Regions from separate parts of the Homo sapiens genome. Here region 2 is linked to region 1. Evidence: promoter capture Hi-C in 16 types of primary human blood cells and fetal thymus (Javierre and others, 2016). All regions are on one chromosome and are shown on one strand. The core of a region is centred on a gene start or on the middle of the fragment in contact, and the rest is flanking DNA. Distances in the headings are between cores, read along the strand shown.

Region 1 (4,636 bases), core at 630-3,129:
AAAGAGTCAACACTTCCCCATCCTGCACAGCCCCATTGCTGCGTGAAAGGCTCACTAACCCCCTGCTGCACAGCTCCTACTGGTTGTCATTTTAGAAAATATAGGGAGACACTGGAACTCCGAGGCAGTAGGATTGAAACGTTTGCTTCTTTTCTTTTTTTTTTTTTTGAGACGGCATCTAGCTCTGTCACCCAGGCTGGAGTGCAGTGGTGCGATCTCGGCTTACTGCAACCTCCGCCTCCCGGGTTCAAACGATTCTCCTGCCTCAGCCTCCTGAGTAGCTGGGATTACAGGCAGCTGCCACCACGCCCAGCTACTTTTTGTATTTTTAGTAGAGATGGGGTTTCACTGTGTTGGCCAGGCAGGTCTCGATCTCCTGATCTTGTGATCCGCCCGCCTCGGCCTCCCAAAGTGCTGGGATTACAGGCATGAGCCACCGTTAATTACTGTTTGTTGTGTTTCCCACTAACTTCTCTGACAATTCTATTTCAACCTACATTCTCCAATCACTGTAATTAGATATTTGAGAATTGTGTTGCATTTCAATCACGGTAACAATAATGGTAGTATTTTATTAATAAATTCAAGTAAAAACTGAAGATGACAATGATAGTGTATGATACATGACATCAACTTTGCATCACCTAAAGATCCAACTTTTCTGTTATGAATCTAGATTTCTTGGGGAAATCCAGATTGTATATTGGACATAGGAATTAAGATTACTGGACTTGAACTTTTTTGTAACTAACAACTTTATTGAGATATAATTCGGGTACCAACTCATACCTGAACAGCTTTTTAGACTTTTTTTCTAGCCCTTTTTTCTCTGTCCTTTCGGTTTTCTTTTAAAAAGGTCCATACTATTCAAGAAACACAACTTTTAAAGTCCACAATAATTCTCATTAGATTTTAATATTTATCTCCCCCCAAGCTTTACTGAAATACTAATGATATTCATTTTTTTAACCACTTTTCATCGTAAGAGAAATACAAATTTTCCTATTGATTCTTATGCACAAAAATCAAGTTTTTGTGGTACTGCTATACATTAGTAGTATGTTCAGCCAGTTTCCAAAGAAATTAGTCAAGATCCCAACATGCAACTTGTATACCACACTACCTTGGAATTCGGCGGCACAAACAACTATTCCTTGTACAAAACCTCCCTGAAAACGACTAAATGGAAAAGTGGATGGCTTGAAACAAGGAATGTTTGGTTTTTTAAAAAGCATTTTTCACAATTTAGTCGAGGTGTGGGGAGGGTTTCCCCACTTGTGGCTCTGCACAGCGTGCGCGCGCGTCTGTCCTGGGGTCCCCTCCCTGCGGGGACGAGGCCGGGGTCCCCGCGCGAGCCCAGCGGACCTGGGCAGTGCGGGGGTCCGACCGCCCGCCACAGGGGGACAGGGACCGCAGCCGCCAAATCCGCGGGGCCGGGGAACGAGGAGACTTTCCTTTCCGCGTTAGCCGGGGCCACCCCCGCCAGAGGGAAAGCACCAAAGGAAAAACCAGGACAGGGACTCTGGGGGCCGGAGGAGCGGCCTCCTGCAGGCACCAGCGGAGGGGCGCGGGGGTGGGGGAAGGGATCAGGGCTCCGCGCTCCGTCCGCCCCACGACCCCGGCCCGGCGCCCCTCCCCTCGGAACCCCCACTTAGTGCCCGGCCCCCGCCCCGCCCCGCGCGGCCCCCGGCCTCAGCCCCGCGCGCCCCGACGCCCCGCCTGCGCCGCGGGCCCGAGTAGTGGACGGGGGGCGGCCCGCTCGGCTCCTCCGCACCCGCTCCCCGCTCGGGCCGAGGCGCCGCGGCCGCGCGCCCCTCCTGGAGGAGGAGGAGGAAGGAGGCGGGAGGAGGAGTTGCCGAGAGGAGAAGGCGAGCGCGGCAGTCGCGCCGGCGCTGGGCGAGGAAGCGGAGCCGGGCCGCCTCCGGGTAAGCGTCCGGGGAGCTCGGGCGGGAGGCAGGGGCAGGGCTTCGCCGTCCGCCTCCGGGTCGCCCGCGGTCCGGGACACGGCTGGTTTTCGCCTCGGAGTGCAGGGGGCGGATCCGGCGCGGGCCGGGCCAGGGAGGCCGCCGGGCGCGGGGCTGCAGCGACGGGTCTGGGTCAGCGCGAGGCCCTGCGCCGTCTCGGCGGGTGCGCGGGCGGGGGCCAGGGCCGGGGAACGGGGGCCGGGGCCAGTCCCGGGAGCGGGGACGCGGAAACCGGGAAGCCGGGGCCGGGGCGCGGCGGCCCCTGAAGGGCCGAGGCCTGCGCGGCCGCGGACGGCTCTTCTCGACCCCTCGGCCTCTTCGGCCGCGGCGCGCCGGCCTGGGCCGCCGCCTTTGTTGCCCGCAGCTCGCCGGGGAGAGGCCGGGGCTCCGCGAGGCCTGGGCAGCGGCGCGGGGCCTGCGCGGCTCTGCGCCCCGGCCGGGTCCCTCCTCGGACCTCCGCGGGCTCGGGCTCGGGCTCGGGGTCGGGGCGCGGCGAGGCCGCAGGCGCGAGGGCGGGCCTGGGGCGCGGCGCTGGGACTCGGGGACGCCCCCGCCCCACCGCGAGGTCGCGCCGGCGCTGGTGGAGGTGCAGGCCGGGGCTGCTCTGCGGCTGAAGGTGCCGCCGGCCGGCTGCGCACTCACCCGGGTGTAGGGACCGGACGATTGTGGAATTTAAACCGCTCCTGGGACCGACACGGGCCTGAATTTTCAGTTTGCTTCGGGAGTTGGCAACTTCAGGTACACCCTTGTGGCTCACGGAGCAGAATTATGGACGTTTCTCAGGGGCAGATCCTGGCACAAAACTTGGGATATGTGCAGTAGTGTGTGTGCCAACTTAACGTTCAGTTGGAATGTGAAATTGGGGTTCCCATCCCCACTGTTTGGAATGAAGGGCCAGGTGGGAATATGTGGCGGGACTCAGTCTTCCGGTAGCAAAATAAATAATGTTGAATTCATTTCAACAAATGTTTCTGCAACGTCTGCCCGGATAAGGCAGCATGCACTGTGCATGAGGACAGAGAACACAGTAATGACAGAAATAACGTGAATTACACACTGAACGTCTCCCAGAGACATTTTAAATTTACTGTGTTCCTTGGGATAAAGATACATTTGGAATCAAACAAAAGTAAACGTTCTACTTCAAGATAAAATATCTGACATCTTCTCAACCACTGAAGGTAGCAATTTATCTTGACTTGTTTTTAACCAACTACCACAACATTAAATCCATTTAGCTTACTTGAATGAACGAATCTTAATTGTAATATTTAATGCTGTGGACAGCCTTACTTAAAAACACGAATGGCATTGCTCACCAGGTTTCACAAAAACCGGAAAAAAAGTCTGTAATACTTTTCCGTGGGCTTTCTAATTTCTCCTCCTAGTGGGTTTTGTGCACGCGTGGATATGGTAAGGTCTAGGATCCATTCAGCTCTAAATTAAATATGTGGCCTTAACCCTTTGGTTCAAACACCCTCCCTAAGCCTGCCTTGGTGCCTTGGAGGAACCTGGTTCGTGGACAGTGGATTTGATAAGGATTCCTAGAAGAACTTCTATCTGGAGTTTGGCCAGGGCTTTCCGCTTGTGCCTGGGTAAGGGTCAGCCAGGTATTCACCCGAATCTATACTTTTTTAGAACTCCATTCAGCATCTCTTTTGAAACACTGTTTCTCTCTTACCTTTATCGTTATCTTCTAAATTACCCTCTAAATTGGTAGTCTTGCCCCTTTCTCTTCAGCAGGGCCTCCCACCCAAGCGCACACCCTCGGGTCATCCCATGACCCCCTCTCTTGGTGGGCCCCCCACCCCGCAGGGAGTGGCAGGGAAGGAATTTGAGAGCCATTGACTGGGCGTAGGGTGGAAAATGGTGCTGTACTGACTGGGTTTCTAGTCATTTTGCCTTCCAGTGTTTTTCTTCATTCTTGCATTAGAACTGGAAAAGGTGTTCTTTTAATGGCCCCCCTTTTTTTAGGAAACAGAAAGCAAGTATCTTCTTTTTTGTTTTTCCTCTGTCACCCAGGGTGGAGTGCAGTGGTGCAATCATGGCTCACTGCAGCCTTGAACTCCTGGGCTCAAGTGATCCACCTCCCTCAGCCTCCTGAGTAGCTTGGACCACAGACATGTGCCACCACACCTGGCTGATTGTTTTTTGGAGAGGTGGGGTCTTGCTGTGTTGCCGAGGCTGGTCTCAAACTCTAGGCCTCAAGATCCTCTCACCTCAGCCTCCCAAAGCCCTGGGATTACAGGCACGAACCACCACACCCAGCCTGCAAGTGTCCTCTTAAGCCTTCTTGTGTAACTACACTCCTTAGAGAAAAATCTTGCTAGTTTTCTCCATTATGGCCAGTTTTCAGGAAACTTTTGGGTTATTGATCATATCTTTTATTTTGCTCATAGAGGTGTGATCTTATTTAAAAGTCCAAACATATAGATGGTCCCCAATTTTGGACTTTTTGACTTTTTGATGGAGCAAAAACGATACACATTTAGTATGCACTTCGACTTACATCCAGATAAACCCACTGTGAGTTTTGACTTTAAGATATTTTCAATTTATCATGGGCTTATTGGGACTCAATTATTGTTATTCTCTTAAAAATATGCACTCGTGACCTCTTCCAATTCTGGAAATTATATTTACATCTGTGGTGCCGAAGTACTTTTGTAAAA
Region 2 (4,636 bases), core at 1,307-3,806, 200 kb after region 1:
ATTCCATTCTTGGCAGGGGATGTTTCTTTGTACCAGGTAGCTTTGCGCTTGTTTTGTTCCATAAAAGTAAATCTCTGTTCACTAAGGAATTATGGTAGTGAATGGTGACTCTCCGGAATTATAGGGCTAATTCCAAAATAATCTTAGTTTTATTCCCCCACATTGTAATATTAACACTTGGGAATTTTGTTTATCGCGATGTTTAATAATTTGGCCAGCAGAGGGCACTGCATACTGACAGTCTCTCCACACCAGTCGCTCAAATCCTCAAGAGTTCCCGAAGTGTTAGGCTTAACTCAGGGGTGTTTGCAAGTGCTTTGCTCTTCTGTTTCAGACATAAACATATGTCAGAAATTAAAAGAGGGTTGTGAAGCAGGAAATTAGATTAACAGTAGCATATAATTTCCCTCTATTTGTTAATAAAGAGAAAAAATATTGGTATGTACACCCATGTCTACAGGGTTTTAAATGTAGCTGTATTAATTAATGTATTAATAATATGATAACACTACTTCTTGCATAAATCAACATAACTTCTAAATTCTCTTTGAAAATATTTTTGGTTTTATATTGTGGTTTAATTCTCAATCATAAACTAAAAAGTAAAAAAACCTGATGCCTAATGTTATACTTTCTTTCAAACCTTAAGATAGATATTATTGTTTGAATAGTATCAAAATATTGTGGTTCTGCACAAATGCTTTTTATAACTTCTTACGATGATATTTTAATTTCTATTTCCACATATGGATATGAGTATTCGAAAACATTTGACGCACAATTTTCTTCTCTTCATCTCCCCATTATAAAAATGTAAAGGTGTGTTTTAAAACCCGTTTGCTCTTGGTTAAACTTGACAATGTGGAGACCCCTTTGTTAGCTGGTCCTATGAGTTAATGCACAGCCTTTGTGTTTTTCATTTAAGGAATAAACTAAACTGGTACCATCCAATGCTACTGACTTGATTTGCCATAGCCCATCTCTATGATGTAAATATGGATTCCCTGGCATTTGCAGAGTTAAGACAGTCTCCTGGGATCAAAGCCTGCATCACATAAATACAGGAGAAAAGCTACTAAAAATTTCTTACAGTAGGAAAACACTCAAGAAGGTTTTTATATTAAAAATCCCTTATCCCAAAAACTGTAGGCTGTGTTCTGATGATGTATTACTAATTTATCAGATATATTTAATGACAGTTTGTAACATGTTCCTACTAAGTGAAGGAACGGTGCTCTGATAAGCACTGGGCAGAATTGAAGAAGTATGACATTCTCTGATCACTTAATCCATGCTCAATTTGACTAGCAATTTTATTTAGGTTTATTGCTTGCTATATAATATACTTAGTTGTATAAGTAAGATACAGATTAATAGTATTTAAATATTACTTTGGAAGCTTTTAAGGGAAATAATTCTAATTCTGAATAATACTAAATAGCTCTGCAGCATGTTGGGATTTAAATATAGATTCAGTCACTACTGTAGATTAAGTCATGATTTGTCTTTTAAAATTGGAAAGCGAGTTAACTTTTGCCCATTGGTTCTCTTTGCAGTGAGTGACCGCCTGGGTACCTGTGGGCATCTGCATTCCACATTGTGTCTGCAGTGCCCTCTTGTGGCCATGCATCTTTATGCAGATAGAGTCTTCCTCTACTACTATCTTTTGGGGCTTCTTCCATTTCGCTTTGCATTGGTGAGGCTACTGGAATAGGACTTACTTGAGCCCGGTTCATTATCTACAAGTAGGATATTGGTACCAGACAGCACTAGGAAGACTAATACAATCTTGGAGGAGGTACTTCATAGCTTGATGTTCTAAAGATTAGCTTTAAGTCATTACATTTTTGGTCATTTATTTAAAGTGATTATTCCTCATAAAATATGGTTATTATCAAAGAGCCTTTCTCCATTTGTCCCAGATCAACAATGACTGGTAAGAGGTTCAGTACAGAAGAGTCATCATATACAGTCCTAACCACCTCTGGCCTGATCTATTTTACACTGGGGCATGACTGGCATTGACTCCAGTCTTCCACGGCCTAAATAAGATTAGTACTCTGAACACAGTAAGAACTTTGTGATTCCACCTCAGTTCCACCCAAGGCAAGGGGAATACTTCCCCCATTTCACAGACGTTTATATGGTGTCTTTTAGGGAAGAGGCAAAACACAGATTGTTATGGTTAAGACCTGAGTTCTGTAGTCAAACCTAGGCCAGCCCATAGCAAACTTTGTGAATCCAGGCAAAGAATTCAACTTTACTGCCTTCATTTTATCATCTGCATACTGGGGAGAGTAACAGGTTGCTCTGAAGATTAAGTGCCAACAGGCCTGTGAAACATTGAACAGTCATTATTAGTTACTGGTGCTAAAATGCAATTGGTGCTAAAATGGGACTTTTCTATACATTTTTTGATTTTAAATTAATAGACTTTAGTTTTTAGAACCATTTTAGGTTTACAGAAACATTGAACAAATAGTACAGAGATTTGTCATCTATTCTTCCTTGTACAGTTTCTTCTATTAACATCTTCCACTAATATGAGACATTTGTTATAATTCATGAACAAATATTAATACATGGTTATTAACTAAAGTCCATAGTTTACTCTGGGTGTTGTATACTCTGTGGGTTTTGATGTGACTAATGACATATATCCACCACTGTAATATTATACAGAATATTTTCATTGCCCTAAAAATCCTCTGTGTTCTGCCTGTTCATCCCTGCCTCTCTGCTGCTCCTGGCAGCCCCTGATCCTTTTACTCTCTGGATAGTTTTGCCTTTTCCCGAATATTGTACAGTTGGAGTCATGCAGGATAAAGGCCTTTCTGGCTGCCTCCCTTCATTTAGAAATTTGCATTTAAGTTTCCTCCATGTCTTTTCGTGGGTTGATAGCTAATTTCTTGTTATTTTTGAATAATATTTCATTGTCTGGCTGTACCACAGTCTGTCCACTCACCTTTATTCCTATAGTATTTTAACTGCTTCCTTTCCTGTGGCGCCCACTACTGTGAGCCAATGGAGGAAGAATGCTGCAGTACATCCAGTACTATAGCCTTAGAATCTGGGACAATACTCGTTAAATAATAGCTCTTCAATAAGTATTTGTCTAAGTAAGAGAAGTTGAAAGAAAGAACTTTTGAATTGGCCACAGTAGCATTTATTTTGGTAGTGGTGCTAAGGGACAGGGCTTCCAAAGGGCTGTCAAAAGTGAATCCAGTTATTAGTCTGCTTTCTTCTTGGAACCTGAAGGGCTTGGTGATCCTGGGAGCACACTCCCTGCTGCGGAGCCTACGGTGCAGCAACACACTTCCCAGGGAGCTGCACTGGGCCACGGACACGCGTCAGTGGGCATGCCAGCTGGACGTGTATTTCCAGCCGTTCTAGCAACTTCTGCTGTCAGGAGGGACCCCTGTGTTCCTCGGAAGATGGCTCAGTGGTGACTGTCATATCTCTGCCTAGAGAAGAGTTAGTGTGGTCGGGGGATGTGGAGAAGAACTGGCATAGGATGTGATCAGTCATAGTTCCCTGGGGATCCTTATAAATCCATCTGTAAACCATCGAGTGTTTATGGATAAAATCATGGCAGTAAAGTATTTATTATTTAATGACTGCTGCAGGGGAAGTTTTAGAATTTTCACTGGCAAGGTAAGGGAGTATAATTTGTGTTGTAGGTGGTGGTGAAGGTTACTCCTAAAATCAACATTATAAGCTTAAAAAAAAAGAGAAAGGAAGAATAGTGTTTGGTATAAAAGTGACCTGAAAGAAAACTGTCTGAAAGGTTTTTGTTAACAGAGGAAAAATGTTTCTTCCATGGACTCATGTGTTCAGAGAAATTGTTCAATTCAAGGAGAGAAAAAGATTCAATATACAATTATTCTTACTCAATTGTTTTTTTTTTTTTTAAGAGACATGGTCTCACTTTGTTGCCCAGGCTGGAGTGCGGTGTCATGATCATAGCTCACTGTGGCCTTGAACTCTTGGGCTCAACTGATCCTCCTCCCTCAGCCTCCTGAGTAGCTGGGACCAAGGCATGTGCTACCATGCATGGCTAATTTTTTTCTTTTAATTTTTTTGTTTTTAGAGATGGGGTTTTGCTTTGTTGCCCAAGCTGCTCTTGAATTCCTGGGCTCAAGAGATCCTCCCACTTTGGCCTCCCAAAGTGCTGGAATTACAGGCGTGAGCCACCTCACCAGGCCAATTTGTTGTAAATTGAAAAACAGAGGATCAGAGATCCATTCTGTGGCAGGGCATCATAAGGAGAGGCCTGCCCTTGAAAGACCTGTCCCAGCAGCTCAGAGTTCATGTGGGGAGGGCTCAAGGCAATTTTCAATCAATCAGTTATGAACTGGGTTGTTTTAGGCACCTCCTCCTATTCACCCTGGTGGTGATAGAGGGTTTCCCACCCTAGGGTTGTAGAGATGGCCAAACCCACGGCACCTGACACCGGACAGGTGTCCAGCAGGGGATGGGGGAGGTAGGCTTTGTAGTAACAAGAGGAGGAGGATGTGATTGGATGGGGGAGGTAGGCTTTGTAGTAACAAGAGGAGGAGGATGTGATTGGCTTGTTTGGATAACTCCATGGGTTGGCAGGAAACTGAAGCCCGCTACTCAGGGATATATGTGGTCC

What was found. The method cuts DNA at HindIII sites, captures the fragments that hold promoters and counts their contacts. A CHiCAGO score of 5 or more calls a contact.
Region 2: a fragment that was not itself captured here is called in contact with the fragment with the promoter of SOCS6 in region 1 in 2 of 17 cell types (monocytes and M2 macrophages); the score reaches 7.8 in monocytes.

What each region holds. Positions count from the first base shown.
Region 1 is chr18:70,287,166-70,291,801 of GRCh38, forward strand. It overlaps SOCS6 (suppressor of cytokine signaling 6), which reads left to right and starts at 1,880. Exons shown (of 2, transcript NM_004232.4): 1 at 1,880-1,925. RefSeq lists a silencer at 1,716-2,615. The HindIII fragment of the contact is 7,416 bases long and covers 933-4,636 here.
Region 2 is chr18:70,490,318-70,494,953 of GRCh38, forward strand. LOC105376872 (a long non-coding RNA gene) reads left to right here. Exons shown (of 3, transcript XR_935606.3): 3 at 1-948. Among named protein-coding and RNA genes, the nearest start is that of LINC01910, 110 kb to the left of the region's middle. The HindIII fragment of the contact is 2,319 bases long and covers 1,398-3,716 here.